2 separate regions of the Homo sapiens genome follow, and region 2 is linked to region 1. The links are contacts of gene promoters, found by promoter capture Hi-C in human tissues and cell types (Jung and others, 2019). All regions are on one chromosome and are shown on one strand. Each heading gives the region's core, a stretch centred on a gene start or on the middle of the fragment in contact. The rest is flanking DNA. Distances are from core to core; before and after follow the strand shown. Region 1 holds the start of TTLL6 (tubulin tyrosine ligase like 6). Region 2 overlaps CALCOCO2 (calcium binding and coiled-coil domain 2).

Region 1 (6,582 bases), core at 2,089-4,588:
GCACTTTGGGAGGCTGAGGTGGGTGGATCACCTGAGGTCAAGAGTTCAAAACCAGCCTGGCCAACATGGCGAAACCCCGTCTCTACTAAAAATACAAAAATTAGCCAGGCGTGATGGCAGGTGCCTGTAGTCCCAGCTACTCAGGAGGCTGAGGAGGCTGAGGCAGGAGAATCGTTTGAACCCGGGAGGCGGAGGTTGCAGTGAGCCGAGATTGTGCCACTGCACTCTAGCCTGGGTGACAGGGCGAGACTCCATCTCGAAAAAACAAAAACAAAAACAAAAAAACCCAGAAACCTGGGAGCTCCACTGCTCATGGGTGGGCAGTCCCCTGTCCAGGGGCTCTTTCAGCCCCATCAGATACAGTTACACATCAAAATGGAGAGGATTCAGAAGAGGTGCTTGGCAGCAGTTTCTATTGCTATTTCTATTTCACTAATATCAGAGCATGTGGAGGAAGGGGTAATGGACTCTATGACCCCACTGCAAGCCTTGAGCAAAGCCATCCCACTTTCCTGGGCCTCAGTTTCCTCATCTGAAAACAGGACAAATGCCATGGAGGTCTCTAAGAACTCTTCTGATTTAAAAGAAGCCCAATTCTGTGATTATATACACTTCTACAACATTCTCTCATGCATTGCAGACTTAAAGCAAAAAAAATCTGGGGTATGCAAAATTTTATCTAAGCATCCTTGCCTCATTCCCACTCCTTACATCATTCCTGGTACACATATCAAGACTTTATTTTGGCTGGGCACGGTGGCTAACACCTGTGATCCCAACATTTTGAGAGGCAACAAAACAAGATCCCGTCTCTACAAAATTGTTTTTTTAAAAAATTAGTCAGGCATGGTGGTAGGAGCCTGTAATCCTAGCTACTCAGGAGCGTTGCTTGAGCCCAGGAGTTTGAGGCTTCAATGAGTCATGACCGTGCCACTGTACTCCAGCCTGGACGACAGAGCAAGACTCCATCTCGAAAAAAACAAAATAAAATTATTTTGGCCGGGTGCAGTGGATCACGCCTGTAATCCCACCACTTTGGGATGCCGAGGTGGGCGGATCACGTGGTCAGGAGTTTGAGACCAGCCTGGCCAACATGGTGAAACCCGTCTCTACTAAAAATACAAAAATTAGCCGGGCATGGTGGCGGGTGTCTGTAATTCCAGCTACTTGGGAGGCTGAGGCAGGAGAATTGCTTGAACCCAGGAGGCAGAGATTGCAGTGAGCTGAGATCGCGCCACTGCACTCCAGCCTGGGCGACAGAGCAAGACTCCGTCTGAAAAAAAAAATATATTTTGACTGGCACAGGAAGAAAGGGCTTCTAGGAGGGACCTTGGTTCAGGGAGCAGAAGCAGGATCTCTGTTTGTTTCATTAACTACTTAAAGGAAGAACTCCAAACTGAGAAAAAACGCTGTGTGTGAAGTGCAGAGCAAACAACCTTACGGGGATTTTACTGTTGTTTTACTATTTATCTATTTAGTCAGGTGGGTGCCTTAGGAACAAAACAGCAGTGAAAACAACAGGGTTGGACCTGGATTTTTCCACACACTCTTGCCTCTGACAGCTTCTAGGACATGGTCCAAATTTTTTGACAATTAGGACCCTCCATCATTCTGCTTCAGTTTTTCATGCCCAGGCCGAGTAAGTCCCTCAGTGTTTACCTTGTGGATTTGTCTGTTTAGGGTTTGCCAGGCACAAATCACTGATATTCTCTGCTTTCCTGGCTGTCACTCGGGTTGAAGCTTGCTTTGCTCTACAGTGAGGGCAGCTCCACTGTTCACCGTGTTCACCCTGTGTTTGCTCCTGACATCAGCCCTGAAAGGACAGTAGTGCCAGGCTCTGGCCTATAAGCTCCCGTTGCAACATCTCATAAATAACCAGTTGTCAGGGATTTTAGTGGAAACTCTCTGAAAGCCGTAAATCTTTGCTGCTCTCTCCTGTATCCTCTCCCTCATTTCCATCACAATATCACTCCTGAGGGACCGGAGACCAAACAGGAGCTAGGCAGAGCAGATTGGTAGGACGCTGGGGAAAGACAACAGTGGGATGGGGGAGGGGACCAGGCTGGGACAGTTGGTCTTAGGGAAGCATCTGCTGGGTGACCAGTTAATGATGGTCACTTGGCCCCTTAGGGCCTGTCGGGGAGGGGCACCACAGCACGGGGCCACCTGCGGGGGGAAAAGGGAAGAGTGCTGACTGGATGGCAGAGAGGTTTCTGAAAGAGCAGCAGATGGGCCACTGGTTCCACTTTGGGCCTTCTGTTCACTCCGGGGTGACTGTAAGCACCACGTAGTAGGCTTCCAGGGTCGGCTTGAGGCTAAGCTACACCCTTGCCTCTGGTGTTCTGCCTGTGCACATCAGCAGGTGAAGGGGATCTGGGTTGGGAGGAACTTAGGTTACCAACTCAGGCCCAAATGAACAATGTTTATTTATTTATTTGAGACAGAGTTTCCCTCTGTTGCCCAGGCTGGAGTGCAGTGGCGCGATCTCAGCTTAATGCAACCTCTGCCTCCTGTGTTCAAGCGATCCTCCCGCCTCAGCCTCCCGATAGCTGGGACCACAGGTACGCGCACCGCGCTCGGTTAATTTTTGTATTTTTAGTAGAGAGGAGGTTTCGCCATGTTGTCCAGCTGGTGTTGAACTTCTGAGCTCAAGCGATCCACCCACCTAGGCCTCCCAAAGTGCTGGGATTACAGGCGTGAGCCACCGCGCCCGACCATCTTCAATGATTTGAATCCAGTCACTACTACAGATTCTCCACCTGAGACCAAATGGTTGCTCTGAGAAGCCCAGACCCCTAACCCCTTAAGTCTCACTGACTCTTCAGTCGGTCTAGGCGGCCCTCTCTTACTGATCAGTTCACTGGAGGCCATGACCCCCACACTCTGGAGGTGAGGTCAGGGTTCAATACGCCTGAGCGGTCATCACAGGTTTGCAACACCCATTTTCCTGTTGAAGAAGCTAAGCCTCACAGAGGTAACGTGGCCTGCCCAAGGTGACACAGGCACTAATATGCCTGAGATGCTGATTTAAGTCTCCAACCAGTGTTTTCCCACAGTGCCTCCTGCTTCAGGTTTGCCCTCTCCCGAAGGCCTAAATTCAAGGTGCCCCCCTCCCTCACCGCAGCCCCGCGCAGCTGGACCTCTGGAGCCAGACGTTCTGGCCGCGCCCGCGCACGGCGCCCGACGGCACCGGCGCGGATGGGCTGGGACTGCGGCTTGGCTCGCTGGGCAAGGGTAGGGCTGCGGGAGCGAGCGGCGGTCCAGCCCCTGGCGCCCGGGTGCGCGGTGCGCGCGTCCTCCGCGTCTCCCGGGACAACCGTGGGCGCGCCCCTCCCCTAGCGCCTGGGCGGTTAATTGGATTCGGGAGGGAGGGGGCATGGCAGCTACTGCAGGGGCCAATCGAAGGCCTAGAAGGCCCCGTATGCAAATATGAGGGCCGGGCGGACCCAAAGTTAGGGCGAGCGCGGGTTGGGGTTGGGGCTGTCTGGCAGCCAATGGGAGCGTTACTCCTTCATCCTTCGAGGAGGGGGCCGGCAGGTGTGGTTGCAAGCTGGACTAGCAGCCCAGCGGGGCGAGACGGGGGAGTAGGAATTGCGGGTAAGAGCGCCCCAAAGCCCGGTGCTGGCTCCAGACCGCAGCCTCCTGGTGCCTGTCCCCTGAAAACCTGGCTAGACACGTCTCCTTAAACCCACACGGGACCCAGGTCCCCAGGGTAGCCCGCTGCCCTCCCTGGTGGCGTTCCATGGCGCCAGGCACTCACCCTCACGGTCCCTCGGCTCCGGGACTCCCCCCTTCTCAGTCCCTCTTATTAACGTTCATTTCCCGCCCTCCCCCGATTTCCTAAACCACAGTCCACCAAGGAGCTGTCGCTTAGACACCAGCGATCCCTGGGACTCACACAACTCTCTTCATCCCCTTCATCCCCATCATTGGGTCATTTTCTTCATCACTGTTCTTCCTTTGTCTGGAGAAACCTTCCAGCAAGACACTTCCCATTTTTCATGGCCGGCATAGTCCTCTGCTGATGCCCCTACCGCCTTCCAGCCTGGTGTTCTTTCATTTCCAGTTGTTATTTCTCACCCCTCCTGAAAAAATACTCTTCTGGCTTTGCAGAAAGTTCTCCTTTGGGATTTGAACTCTAGGAAAAATATCACATTGGGGGATGAAGTGGGAAGGGAGCTAACGTTTTGAAAGCACCAGTATGTGCGAGGCACTCCAAAAAAATTTAATATTTATGCCAATCTTATTATTATATTTTCTTTTTTGTTTGTTTTAAGAGATGGAGGTGGGGGTGGGGGGGCTCACTTTTTTGCCCAGGCTGGTCTCGAACTCCTGAGCTCAAGTGATCCTCCCACTTGGGCTTCCCAAAGTGCTGGAATTACAGGCATGAGTCACCACGCCTGGTTTATATTTTCATTTTACAATATAGCCTTTATTTTGAACCAAGCACTGCTTTAAGGGTATTAGAAATATTAACTCATTTAATCTTTAAAACAGCTCCATAAAATGAATATTATTATCATCCCCATTTTACTTATACAGAAGCTGAGGTACAGAGAGGCTAAGTTACTCACCCATGGTCACACATTCTAGAAACTAGTAGAGCTGGGATTTGGATCCAGATCCATCTGTCTTTGTTAGCAATGCCCTGAATATTGTGGAGAAAATGACTAGGCATGAGCCTGATCTGAATATTGCATCTTCCAATCTTGCAGAATTTCTCAGTTTCTAGAAGAATAAAAGATGGCATCTAAGTCAGCAAGATTCTTATTGTTCCCACTACAGGTGACTTGTCATTCTCAACACTTCTTATTGGCAAAGCCCTTGAGCAATTGGGTGCCCCATCCCTCCCTTGTTAGTTCACATTTTGCTTAGGACCCTTTCAGGCCCCGGGCTGAAATTCAAAGTGTGACTAAAACGAAAAGTCAAAAGACCACAAAAAACATCTTATTTTATCCTGTCTGAATCAAAGCTCAAAGCACTTTTCTAGATGTGAAGCTTTTATCCTCCTAGTGGTCCTGTAATTATAGAGAAGATAGGGAGTGGGAGAGGAAATAATTGCTTGGATTTTTATGACATACTGAGTTGGAGGGGCAAAGCTGAAAGCAAGATCCAGAGGTCTTACCTCCACATCTTTTCTTCCCCCATCCAATTTGACATTTTCCAAGAACCACTGGAGGCCTTCAGAGGGATGCTTCCAGTAGGGAAATGAGGACCAAAAGATGAAAAGGAGGTACGTGAAGGAAAACCTATTATCTGGTGAAAGAGAGGGACTTCACAGACAGACACAATAGGCGAAACTTTCAGTGCTCTATATATTCCTATAGACTAGAAAAAAAGTCCAGGTGATGAAGGTCAGAGATGAAAAAACTTGGCTACAACTTGAAATATGTTCTCCCAGGGTTCTCTTAGTCAACCACCAAATTATTGTTTTCTATCATTTATAGGATGCCCGTGTTCATTCAGTTTTGCAAAAGAAATCACTAAACTGCTGGGCGCGGTGGCTCATGCTTGTAATCCCAGCACTTTGGGAGGCTGAGGTGGGCTGATAACCTGAGGTTGGGAGTTTGAGACCAGCCTGACCAACATGGAGAAACCCCATCTCTACTAAAAATACAAAATTAGCCAGGCGTGGTGGTGCATGCCTGTAGTCCCAGCTCCCGGGAAGCTAAGGCGGGAGAATCACTTGAATCCAGGAGGCAGAGGTTGCGGTGAGCTGAGATCGTGCCATTGCACTCCAGCCTGGGCAACAGGCTGGAGTTTGAAAGAAAGAAAGAAAGATAAAAGAAAGCACTAAACATTTTCCACCCTCTGCAACACCTCCAGGGAAGAGGAGAGTAGTCAACAGGTATAGTCCTTCAGAAGTGGAAATAAGACAGGGACCCTCCTCTGAGTTTTTTCCAAATAACCCGCAATGGACCCGTCCCAGTGGACCCGTCCCAGTGCTCATTCCCTCCCCCTGGTGGCCAATGTAGGACATTTTCGTGCTGTCTAACCAGGATCTTGTTGACAGCCTCTGGCTTGGAAGATCTCAAGATCAAACCCTATACTAAAATGGAAGGAAACATGAGAATTTTTTCAGTGTCTTAACTATATCCTACTTGGAAAGGTGGACTAATACCCTTCCTTAATGACACAATGCTCTTTCTTGTGTCATTAAGAAAAACTGAAGATGCTATTTTGCTATTTACTGTGTTTGTTACATTGGTAGTACAGCTCTTAGTCTTTTTTTTTTTTTTTTTTTTTTTGAGACACTGTCTCCCTCTGTCACCCAGACTGGAGGGCAGTGGTGCGATCTGGGCTCACTGCAACGTCCGCCTCCCAGGTTCAAGCGATTCTCCTGCCCCAGCCTACCGAGTAGCTGGGATTACAGGCGCCTGCCACCATGCCCAGCTAATTTTTGTATTTTTAGTAGAGACGGGGTTTCACCATGTTTGCCAACTTGGTCTCCAACTCCTGACCTCAAGTAACCCACCTGCCTTGGCCTCCCAAAGTGCTGGAATTACAGGCGTGAGCCACCGCACCCAGCCTTAGTCTTTTAAAAACTCTCTAAAGCACTTAGTCCACTTTGTCTGTCCACTA
Region 2 (6,622 bases), core at 1-2,500, 34 kb before region 1:
TAAACTGAGAAAGAGGTGGTCATTTTCCTTTTTCAGCTGCTCTAACTGCTCTGTCTTATCTTGATCTCCCTGAACAAGCTTCTCCATTTCTTTCTCTTGAGTTGACAGCTGGGCCTAAAACAAAAATAGTGAACATAACCAAGATATAAAAGAAGGAAAACAAAACAGGAACAATGCTTTTTAACGTACAATAACAAAGAGATGTGTTTCCCTAGCAACTCCCAACTGCCAACTGAGTAAAATTAGACAAATCACTCTTTAAAGCACCTCTTTAAGGCATAGCTTCCTAAAAATGAGAGCAGTTCTGCTATCTGCTCTATATTCCAGACTTTTGAGTACGATTTTGCTTGAAAAGATTAAAGTTTGATTATTGATATAGATGATTGTCATCTATATTAAGAGCTCATGGTAAACTACCTTAGTAATACATGAACAAATCACTAAGTTCCTTGTGAATCATGATTTTTTTTTTTTTTTCTCTTGAGACAGAGTCTTGCTCTGTCACCCAGGCTGGAGTGCAGTGGTGCAATCTCTATTCACTGCAACCTTTGCCTCCGGGGCTCAAGTGATTCTTCTGCCTCAGCCTCCCGAGTAGCTGGAATTACACGTGCGCCTGTAAATTAGCACGCCCAGCTAATTTTTGTATTTTTAGTAGAGACGGGGTTTTGCCATATTGGCCAGGCTGATCTCGAACTCCTGACCTCAGGTGATCCACCTGCCTTGGCCTCCCAAAGTGCTGGGATTACAGACATGAGCCACTGCGCCCGGCTGTGAATCATGATTTTTTTTTTTTTAAAAGCAGGGGCATGGGTAGGGTGGAGGCTTACCTGGTCCAAGAATGGAAAATACATAACCTGAAACTTTAGTGTGATACTTTGAAAAGTATGCCATTAGGCACTCACTGCAATGAAATACATCTTTCTAGGCCACCAAATTGGAGCAGTGGTAAGGCTAAGAAAATATCCTTTGACAAACATATGGCATTACCTACCTGAAGCTGATCCACTCTGATTCCCATCTTCTCATTTTCTGAGGACATCTTCTGGTTTTGTTCTTTCAGTCTGTAGAGGTGGAGATAACTATGTGAAAAATTCACTGATTCCAGGTCAGCTACCCCTGGCCTTAAGTGATTTAAGGCTGGCTTGGCCCTAAGCCTGCAGAATTATTTAAAAATCTACTAGTCTCCATTGCAGTCCTGTTTTGGCTTCCTGACTCCAAAAAACTGCAAGTATTCAATCCCTAAAGTTAATATTTGAAATCAGATCATTTTTCCTGACTATTCTGATACCAATTTTCTAATTCATGATTCAAAGGGTGGAGAATCACATCATCAATGTCATAACAGTGTTTTCTCACAAATTCCAGAAATCTAATCTGACTGTACTTAAGGGTACTGATGGTACAGCAGCTCTTCCCCTCCCAGAATTATGGGATGCACTCACTGAAGCAGCTCTGTCTCCCAATAGTCCTTCTGTTCTTTCACTTTCAGTTCCAACTTCTTATTGATGCTCTGTAGGGTTTCTAGCTCCTCCTATAGATTGAAACAACATCAAAGGGACAGACTAGTTCTATGACTTTTGAATGAGTATCTTAGGCAGGCAACAAATATTTATTGAGCACTTACTATATGTCAGGCATAGCATGACACAGCAGTAAATGAAATACTCAAATAAAAGGAAAATGTTCTTTTTTTTTTTTTTTTAAGACAGTGTCTCACTCTATTGCCCAGGCTGGAGTGCAGTGGCGCAGTCTTGGCTCACTGCAACCTCTGTCGCCCGGGTTCACGCAATTGTTGTGCCTCAGCCTCCCAAAGTGCTGGGATTACAGGCATGAGCCACTGCGCCTGGTCACAAAATGCTCTTTTTATATTAAAAATGCATCACCTTAATTTCTCATTCCACTGGAGCTTATAATTTGTTCATTAAACAAATATTTACTGAGAGCCTATTCCACACTAGACACTGTTCTTGCATTGCAGACACAACAGTGGACAAAATAGACAGAACTGCCCTTTTCCTAGAACAGCGCTGTTCAATAAGTGAGAGCTACATATAATTTTAAAATCTTAGGAGGCACATTTTTAAAAAGGTAAAAAGAAACAGACTAATTTTAATAATACTATGTGTATGCATATATATATATTTTTTGTTTTTAATTTTTTTTGAGATAAAGTCTTGCTCTGTTGCTCAGGCTGGAGTGCAGTGGCGTGATCTTGGCTCACTGCAATCTCTGCCTCCCGGGTTCAAGCAATTATCTTGCCTCAGCCTCCTGAGTAGCCGGGATTACAGGCGCATGCCACCATGCCTGGCTAATTTTTTTTTGAGACAGAGTCTTGCTCTGTTGCCCAGGCTAGAGTGCAGGGGTGTGATCTTGGCTCACTGCAACCTCTGCCTCCCAGGTTCAAGCAATTCTCCTGCCTCAGCCTCCTGAGTAGCTTGGATTACAGGTGCCTACCACCATGCTTGGCTAATTTTTGTATTTTTAGTAGAGACGGGGTTTCACCATCTTGGCCAGGCTGGTCTCAAACTCCTGACCTTGTGATCCACCTGCCTCGGCCTCCCAAAGTGCTGAGATTACAGGCATGAGCCACCACGCCCGGTCTCCTGGCTAATTTTTGTATTTTTAGTAGAGACGGGGTTTTGTCATATTGGCCAGGCTGGTCTCGAACTCCTGACCTCAAGTGATCCACCCATCTTGGCCTCCCAAAGTGCTGGTATTACAGGTGTGAGCCACTGCACCTGGCCAAATGATAGTATATTTAACCGAATGTACCTAAAATATCATTTCAACATATGAACAATTAAAAGGAGATATTCAGACAGGGACGGTGGCTCATGCCTATAATCCCAGCACTTTGGGAAGCTCAGGCGAGTGGATCACCTGAGGCCAGGAGTGCGAGACCAGCCTGGCCAACATGGTAAAACCCTGTCTCTAAAAAATATAAAAATTGGCTGGGTGTGGTGGTGATCACCTGTAATCCCAGCTACTCGGGAGGCTGAGGCAGGAGAATCGCTTGAACCTGGGAGATGGGGGTTGCAGTGAGCCAGGATCGCACCCTTGCACTCCAGCCTGGGTGACACAGTGAGACTCCATTTCAAACAAACAAACAAAACTAATGCCTGTTCAAAGATACTGGTATAAGAAGGTGAGATCACAGGCAAAACAGAATATGGTGCTGGATAAGAGGCACCATCCAATTCTGATCTCCATGCTCCAAGGTCACCTATAACCAGCAGCCATACCTGCTTCTTTTGGAGCTCAGCCTGCATGTCTGAGTTCTGCTTCTGGAGGCTGATACAGCTGTCCTTCAGCTCCTGGTTTTCTTTGCAAAGCTCCTTGTTGTGCTGCTCAATCTCTTCCACCTCTCCCTACAAAAGAACATTCCATAAACTATATTCCAAGTCCCTCTAGCAGAAAATTCCCATAGGTTAGGATGGTGAGGGACTGGCTGATTCCCATTCACTGCAGTGACACCTATGTATCCCAGATGGGGGCTGCTCCTTAATACCTAGGTAAGGGTATAACAGAGGTATGTCTTTATAATTGCAGCAATACCAAGAAAGGCAAGCAAAAATTATATCCATTAAAATTAAAAGGAACAATGATATAAGAATGTAGCTTCTTCTTGCAGACGCTTAGTATTGTTTGTCTCTCCCAATGGACTTAGCTCCTTGAGGCCAAGGACAGTGTTTTAACTGATTCTTCATTGTGTTCCCAGTGCCTACCATAGTGCTGGATGAAAAGTAGGTGTCCTGTTAAATGATGAAGTAAGAAAATGAATCTAATACTCACGTATGACAGACAGGCTGTAGGCCAGAACTGAAAGAGATAAGAATATTTGGTGCTTCTCTCCTCAAAGGAGCTTTTACATTTACCATTGTGATAAGATGTGTAGATGACAAAAATTAAGCAATTGGAAAGTTAAAAGAATAACTGAATGCCAGCTGAGTTAAAGAAGTTTTAGAAAAGAAGAAACCACTTATTGTTATGAGTCTTGTTAACATTCCGAAGTCATTCCTGAGTGAGTCTGTGTGAGTACTACATACATTTTTTCCAATGATACCCGTTAGATATTCAATAAAGCCTTATTAACTCAAATTCCATCCTATCCTATATTGCTACCCGTAATGGCAGTAAGGGATTGAGGTGAGAAGTTTTACAAACCTGAGTGGTAACAACCAGGATGTCTTCCTCATTTTCTGGACGGAATTGGAAAGGAATACTTGCTCCCCGGACCACACCATCCTCATCCACATAGCAGAACTGGTAATACTCATCATCCTTGGGCAGGTAGTAAGCTGAAAACACAACATAATTTTTCATCCAAAATAAGATCTATTCAGAAAAGTAAAATTCTGGAAATCTTTTTATCTGCCCCAGAAAGCTCAAGCTGAAGGGAATTAATTAGTCTTGGCTACTGTCTTCAACACCTTTGATCCAGTATTTTTCTCACCTTTGAATTGGACTTCCTGCTGTTTAGCTGATTTGTTGTTTAGGTCAATGGGCAAAGTAACCCACATGAAGGTGTAATACTCACGGGTTGTCTTCCACCCCACCTGCAATGACAAGAAGTTCTTATTTAGTACCTGAAAGGGGACTGGGGAAAATCCTAATTGGGCTACATCTTCTTAAAATCACTTTTTATTTGTATATATTGAAAATATAGGCCGGGTGCAGTGGCTCATGCCTGTAATCCTAGCACTTTGGGAGGCCAAGGTGGGTGGATTGCCTGAGCTCAGTAGTTTGAGACCAGCCTGGGCAACATGGTGAAAACCCGTCTCCATTAAAATACAAAAAATAAGTTGGCACGGTGGTGTGCGCCTGTAATCCCAGCTACTCAGGAGGTTGAGGCAGGAGAATTGCTTGAACCCAGGAGGCGGAGGTTGCAGTGAGCCGAGATTGCACCACTGCACTCCAGCCTGGGTGACAGAGTGAGACTCCGTCTCCAAAAAAAGAAAAAAGAAAATATAATAGAATGAGTTCATTATGACAAGATTCTCACGCCAGGGCTCAAACCTTTTTTAATTTTTTATTTTATTTTTCACTTATGACAAATACATATGGGAAAATGTCTGATACAACCAAAAATTGGGGTGCACATACACAGCTCAAAATACAAGTCTTAGAAGGATTTGAAAACTAGCTCCTCACCACCCAGGAAAAAAGCTCCAAAAATTCTATCTACAAGTCAGAGATAGAGCTGAGACTGATTTAAGGGGAAAGTTGCGGGAATATGAACCCTGATCCTCTTACAATGGCATTCTTTGGACTTCTAAATCAGAAATCACTTCTGACCTGCCCTCTCTATTGGTGTGTCCTCTATTGTGTCCAATTAAGCCTTGTCATATACCAACCTGGATATACTACTGCATTAAAAAAAAACCCATTATTTTTCATAATGTCTGTGTTGGGGGCAGAGGGAGAACAGGGTTCTTAGATTATGAGGCACCAGATAAGAGATTCCAGGTCTATATAATTTTTTTTCTTCATGCATGCTTAATGATGGCTTTTTGGTAATAAAGATATTAACAACAATCTGGTAGTCGTAAAGGCCTCTTCTAGGTATTGAATACAATAAATCATAAGACATAAGGATGCAGCAAAACACGCCTCAGAGCAGAAAGCTGGCTAAGTGGAAAATATTCTCACAAATGTGAAGGGGGTAAAAGATTGCTCAAATCTTATCTAGAAAATAAAAGCACACCAGAGAATAGAAAGGAAGCTATTGTGTCTTCAAGGGGACAACACTCAGCAAATGAGAAGCAAAATTACATTTATTGCCATATTTTGACCCTGTCTGAGCTCAGTAAGAAGAGAACTAAAAATAAATTCCATTTTTATATATTAAGGAATCAAAGCAGGGTTGAAAAGTCTATACCAAAAACTCATCAGAACATCCTAGGGCATGTTTTAGAGTCTCATTAATACACACCCCATTGCTGTAAGCATCTCAGAGCCACTGCAGCCTGCGGTGGTACAGGAAGCAGGAATTTTATGGAGTCCTCATTCACATCCTGGAGTTTCTTAATGCACTGTGACCAAAATATCATTGGGAAGGCCTAAGAATTATTGCTGCCTTGGAACAGGGAAACAACTTCTAGCCACCTGCAATTTCTGTCCTTGGCTCCTCCATTTGAGTAGTTCTTGTTCCAATTTGTCTTGGAAACATTTAAATGCCTAAGTCAAGGAGAGTATGAAGCATAGGATTATACACTGAGGGAAGGAAAGCAGACTGCTTCCTGCTTTAGGCTCCATCATTGGTGGTGGCTTTCACTATAGAGAAGATGTAACATATTTGTATGTATTAAAAATATTTACTGACTGGGCACAGTGGTGCATGCCTATAATCCCAGTTACTCAGTGGCTGAGACACGAGAATCACTGGAACCCAGGAGGCAGAGGTTGCAGTGAGCCCAGATTGCACCTCTGCACTCCAGCCTGGGTGACAGAGCAAGACTCTGTCTCAAAATAAAATAAATTTTAAAAAATAAATAAAAAATAAAAAGAGTTACTGAGTACCTACCTGGTGCCAGATACTACCAGTGTCTGGGGTGATGAGGAGTTGAATAGTCTGATTAAGACTACACTGAAAGAACACTGGGGAGAGCATTTGAGGTGAGCT

What was found. Contacts are between HindIII fragments. The study calls those that stand out against the background at their distance.
Region 2: a contact is called between a fragment that was not itself captured here and the fragment with the promoter of TTLL6 in region 1, in 1 of the 25 tissues and cell types used here (mesendoderm cells).

What each region holds. Positions count from the first base shown.
Region 1 is chr17:48,813,985-48,820,566 of GRCh38, reverse strand. TTLL6 (tubulin tyrosine ligase like 6) reads left to right here and starts at 3,338. Exons shown (of 16, transcript NM_001130918.3): 1 at 3,338-3,597. The coding sequence starts at 3,495. LOC105371813 (a long non-coding RNA gene) reads right to left here. Exons shown (of 4, transcript XR_001752926.1): 3 at 4,575-4,728; 4 at 3,609-4,138. RefSeq lists silencers at 3,143-3,492, 3,583-3,632. The HindIII fragment of the contact is 9,954 bases long and covers 1-5,882 here.
Region 2 is chr17:48,845,998-48,852,619 of GRCh38, reverse strand. CALCOCO2 (calcium binding and coiled-coil domain 2) reads right to left here. Exons shown (of 13, transcript NM_005831.5): 3 at 4,454-4,556; 4 at 4,165-4,298; 5 at 3,243-3,368; 6 at 1,443-1,531; 7 at 992-1,061; 8 at 1-114. Among named protein-coding and RNA genes, the nearest start is that of CALCOCO2, 18 kb to the right of the region's middle. The HindIII fragment of the contact is 6,665 bases long and covers 1-4,582 here.